Linked DNA regions of Homo sapiens: region 1 is linked to region 2. Evidence: promoter capture Hi-C in human tissues and cell types (Jung and others, 2019). All regions are on one chromosome and are shown on one strand. The core of a region is centred on a gene start or on the middle of the fragment in contact, and the rest is flanking DNA. Distances in the headings are between cores, read along the strand shown.

Region 1 (2,700 bases), core at 1-2,500, 610 kb after region 2:
CCCTTTGGCCCTCTGTGCTCTTGTCTGGTTTTCCCCAGAAACTCTCACCCTCACTCCATCTCCCACTGCGGTCTAACAAATCTCCTTTCGTCTCTCAGAACGGGTCTTGCAGGCAGTTTGGGTATGTCATTCATTTTCCTTAGTGTAAAACTAGCACGTTGCCCGCTTCCCTTCACATTAGAAAACAAGATCAGCCTGTGCAACATGGTGAAACCTCATCTCTACCAACAAAACAAAAAAACACAAAAATTAGCCAGGTGTGGTGGTGCATCCCTATACTCCCAGCAACTCAGGGGGCTGAGGTGGGAGAATGGCTTGAGCCTGGGAGGCAGAGGTTGCAGTGAGCTGAGATCACACCACTGCACTCTAGCTCGGGTGACGAAGCCTGACTTTGTCTCAAAAAATACAGGGATGAATATGTCAATTACCCTGATTTGATCATAGCACGTTGTATACATGTACTGCAATATTGCTGTCCACCCCATAAATATGTACAATTCTGTATACATTTTTAAAATCATAAAAATAAGATAATGCACCGTCTCCACCCCTCTCATATTTACTTTCTGAAGGAAATGTTAGGTCTTCTCAAGGTAAAGTTCTATATTTATTATAGCGTTTAGGCATTTCTTGACCATCTAATGAGTGTAAAACTGTACCACTGGGCCAAGTGCAGTGGATCATGTCTGTAATCCTAGCACTGTGGGAGGCCAAGGCAGGAGGATCGCTTGAGCCCAGGAGTTCAAGACCAGCCTGGGCAACATAGTGAGACCCCATCTCTACTTAAAATAAAGAAGATAAAAATTGTTTTAAAAAAGGAAAAGAATGGCTGGCCACAGTGGCTCACGCCTGTAATCCCGGCACTTTGGGAGGTTGAGGTAGGTGAGTCACTTGGGAAAAGACAGAAGGATGGCACCAAGAAGTTCCAGGACGACGGCTGTGAATCAGGGCTAGTGAGCACACAGCTTGGGTGAAGGGGGAATGGGAAAGTTGCTTAGAGAAGCCTCCAAATGTAAGAATGGGTCAATTCCTCGTCTTAACATAGTGGAAAATCATACTGAGATGCTATCAGAAGACAGAGGAAAAATAATTTTAGAGGTCAAGTAAACTAAGTAGATTTTAAAAAGACCAGTATAGCCTAGGCACAGTGGCTCACACCTGTAATCCCAGCACTTTGGGAGGCTGAGGCGGGATCGCTTGAGCCTAAGAGTTCGAGACCAGCCTGGGCAACATGGTGAAACCTTGTCTCATATACAAAAAATATAAAAAATTAGCTGGGTGTGGTACCACATGCCTACTCTCAGGTACTCAGGAGGCTGAGGTTGGGGATCACCTGAGCCCGGGGAGGTTGAGGCTGCAGTGAGCCATGATTGCACCACTGCTGTCAAACCTGGGTGACAGAGTGAGACCCTGCCTCAAAAGAAAATAAAAATAAAAAACAAATATAAACTTTAGGGGAACAATAACAACAACAAAAATAAAAGAAGCAAGTTATATTACCCGAAAATTCTCGGCTGCGAATATCTGTGGGTATAAACATGTGATACTGGCCGGGCGTGGTGGCTCATGCCTGTAATCCCAGCACTTCGGGAGGCTGAGGTGGGCAGATCACGAGGTCAGGAGATCGAGACCAGCTCAGCCAACATGGTGAAACCCTGTCTCTACTAAAAATACAAAAATTAGCCAGTCGTGGTGGCACACGCCTGTAGTCCCAGCTACTCAGGAGACTGAGGCTGCAGTGAGCTGAGATTGCGCCACTGCACTCCAGCCTGGGTGACAGAGTGAGACTCTGTCTCAAAAAAAAAAAATGTGATACTGAATGTTGATATGCAGACATAGAGATAAACATTGGAAGAGAAAAAACAGTAAGAACAACGCTGTAGAATAACTAAGGCCCCGCCTATTATGATAGGAATCCAGTAAGTCTAAGCTCATTCACATGGTTACATGTTTTTAGAAACCTAATATTAACAAGTTCCTAAAGAAAACAGCTAAAAGTGGGTGTCTCTTAGGCGGAGCAATGGAGGAGATGGTTAGTCAGCCACTGCATTTTGTACACACCCTTTTAGTGCTATTGGAATTTTTTAGGTAGGTGCTGTCAGGCCTCTGAGCCCAAGCTAAGCCATCATATCCCCTGTGACCTGCACGTACACATCCATATGGCTGGTTCCTGCCTTAACTGATGACATTCCACCACAAAAGAAGTGAAAATGGCCTGTTACTGCCTTAACTGATGACATTGTCTTGTGAAATTCCTTCTCCTGGCTCATCCTGGCTCAAAAGCTCCCCTACAGAGCACCTTGTGACCCCCACTCTGCCCGCCAGAGAACAACCCCGCTTTGACTGTAATTTTCCTTTACCTACCCAAATCCTATAAAACGGCCCCACCCCATCCCCCTTCGCTGACTCTCTTGTCGGACTCAGCCCACCTGCACCCAGGTGATTAAAAGCTTTATTGCTCACACAAAGCCTGTTTGGTGGTCTCTTCACATGGACGCACATGAAATTTGGTGCCGTGACTTGGATCGGGGGACCTCCCTTGGGAGATCAATCCCCTGTCTTGCTCTTTGCTCTGTGAAAAAGATCCACCTACGACCTCAGGTCCTCAGACCCACCAGCCCAAGGAACATCTCACCAAGTTTAAATTGGGTAAGCGACCTCTTCTTACTCTCTTCTCCAACCTCTCTCACTGTCCCTCAA
Region 2 (2,700 bases), core at 40-2,539:
CCCAGCTACTCAAGAGGCTGAGGCAGGAGAATCGCTTGAGCCCGGGAGGCAGAGGTTGCAGTGAGCCATGATCATGCCACTGCACTCCAGCCTGGGCGACAGAGTGAGACTCCATCTCAAAAAAAAAAAAATTATTTTAAAATCAAAAGAAAAGAAGGGAAATATAGCTTTGGAAGACCAAGGCAGAAGGATCGCTTAAGGCTAGGAGTTCAAGACCAGCCTGGGCAAGGCAAGACAGCAAGATCCCCATCTCTATAAAAGAAGAAGAAAGGAGGAGGAGGAGATAATTCAGCCTAAGTGGTGTTTATCTTTATTTTATACCAACATATCACAAAATATAATTTCATATATATTTATGAATGAAATGATCATGCTTAGGATCATGTTTAAGTATCTCCTATCCTGCCCTTTCAAGAAAACTATTTAAAGATGTTTCCAAACTCTTCCATGTCTCTTCTCAGTGGTTTGTCACAATGCTTCTACAGTGCTACACAAAAGAAAGAGAAATGGTCCAGAGAAGTGTAGTGACTTATCCAAGGTGATACCACCAGAATGACTAAACGGGGCAGCTAAGAAGAGCCCCGTCCTTGATGCTGCTGAAAACCCCGCGTTTTTGAGCTCTTTCCTCCCAAACATAACATCAGCTTGCGGGTTTTTGCGTCCTCCCAGGACCACCTGTGTTGCTGTTTACTGAATATTTTTCTCCACACTGCCTTTTTTTTTTTTTTTTTTGACAGAGTCTCTGTCACTCAGGCTGCATGCAGTGGCGAGATCATGGCTCACTGCAGCCTCGACCTCCCGGCCTCAAGCGATCCTCCCACCTCAGCCTCCCGAGTAGCTGAGAATACAGGCATGAGCCACCGCACCCGGCCTACACCGACGTTTATAAACTTGGCGTCATTACGTTGTCATGAGCAGTGCAGAGGTAATCACAAAAACGTTTACCGTGGAAACAAAGCAAAGCTTCTTCAGTTCTGCTGAGGTTCCCCTGACAGCCAGAGCCTCGAGTCGGCCTGCGTTGGTTTAGAAGGAACGTTCGGATTTGTTCCCAGGGTGTTACAGGCATCCTAGCGCCACACAGAGCGTACCCTCGGAGGGACAGACAGGTAATTAGAGAGGGAACAACTCACATTCTCCCGGGCTCAGCCGCCACGCCCCGCCCCGCCACGCCCCCTGCTGCACCACGCCCCCTCGCAGCCCCGCACTGCGCCTGCGCAGTAGCTCTTACGCCAGTTCGAGCCCCACCCCCTTTCAGAGCGAACATTGGCCTTGGGGGCGGGGCTTGGGCACAAGATGGCCGCTGCGCGCCCAGAGGCCCAGAGTCGGAGCTCACCGACTCCGGAGTCGCGATCCCAGGAGCCACTGGACCTGGTGCGGGCAAGGAAGGGGCCTGGGCGTGGGGCTCGAGGTGGGAGGAGGTCGTAGTGTGGGGGGCGGGTCCGGGGCGTGGCCTATGAGGGGGTGGGCGAGGGAGGTATTTAGTGCTATGGCCCTGGGGGTGGGGCTTCTTGTGGTTTCGCGAGGGGCGGGGCAGGGGAGGAGACTATGTCATGGTGGGCGGGGTGGGGGAGGGACCTATGGGTGGTGGGCGGGGCCTGGATGGGGGCGGAGTCTGAGGACGGTGTTGTCTTGTGGGACGGGTTTGGGTCCAGGGAAGGGGGCTTACCAGGGATAATTTGCATAATTTGGGTGGAGCCTTGTAAGGGGCGGGGCCTCATAAATTCTAGGGCTAATTCTAGGGTAGAAGGTTGGGAAGGTGACCCTGAAAAACGTGGGGGATTATGATTGGAGCACCTATGTCGGGGTAGGGGATAATTCTTCAAGGGTCTTAGTGATGCTTCTCGAATGCCCAAGGGAGAATTTGGGGGTAGAAGTGGGTGGTCTAGGTGACTTTGGAACTTCCTCCACGTTACCCCACTCAGAATTAGACTAATTGAGGACATTCATTCATTCAACAAACATTTACTGAGCTCCTACTTCGGCTCTGTAAATAGAGAAGTGACCAAGACAGACAAGGGTTGTGTTCTTTTGGAGCCTGCAGTCTCTTGAGAGGAGAGAGACAATAAAGGAGAGTTACTGTGATATGTTCTATAAAGGAAATAAAAATTGAGCCAATTTCTATAAATTGAGCCAAGAGTAGGGGTGGGGCAGCTAAATTTAGACGAGAGAAGTCAGCTGGGTGCCGGCTTATGTTTAAGCTGGGGTCAGAGAGATAAGTGGAGCTACATCGCCACAGATATTATAGTGACGATTTGGGATAAGTCATTTGGAGCCACTGGAGGGTTTTGAGTGCGAAAAATGACTTGATCTGATTTACATTTTCAAAAGACCTTCAGGCTATTCCTGGGAGGTGGGTTACAAGCCAGCAGAAATAGGAACAGAGATGCCCTTGGGTTTTTCAATTTTGGAGGCGCCAAGTGATGGGGCTTTAACTAGGGTGGAGGACAAAAGGTGGGATCCATGATATATTTTGGACAGGAGAGGAAATGTTGATGAGGATACAACAGAATCCTGGAGGATGGGCCGGGCGCGGCGGCTCACGCCTGCAATCCCAGCACTTTAGGAGGCAGAGCCAGAAGGATCTCTTGAGCCCAGTAGTTGGAGACCAGCCTGGGCAACATAGTGGGACTCCCTCTACATTAAAAATAATAATAATAATTTTTGTTTGTTTTGCTGTCTAAGATGGAGTCTTGTTCTGTC

What was found. Contacts are between HindIII fragments. The study calls those that stand out against the background at their distance.
Region 1: a contact is called between a fragment that was not itself captured here and the fragment with the promoter of ZNF784 in region 2, in 1 of the 25 tissues and cell types used here (spleen).

The regions. Positions count from the first base shown.
Region 1 is chr19:55,011,820-55,014,519 of GRCh38, reverse strand. GP6 (glycoprotein VI platelet) reads left to right here. Exons shown (of 8, transcript NM_016363.5): 8 at 1-815. All of the region lies in intron 2 of GP6-AS1 (GP6 antisense RNA 1), which reads right to left. Among named protein-coding and RNA genes, the nearest start is that of GP6-AS1, 6.9 kb to the right of the region's middle. RefSeq lists an enhancer at 2,104-2,663. The HindIII fragment of the contact is 9,124 bases long and covers 1-2,700 here.
Region 2 is chr19:55,623,155-55,625,854 of GRCh38, reverse strand. It overlaps ZNF784 (zinc finger protein 784), which reads left to right and starts at 1,289. Exons shown (of 2, transcript NM_203374.2): 1 at 1,289-1,371. The coding sequence starts at 1,294. RefSeq lists enhancers at 909-1,058, 809-1,308 and silencers at 1,129-1,188, 1,259-1,308. The HindIII fragment of the contact is 4,171 bases long and covers 1-2,700 here.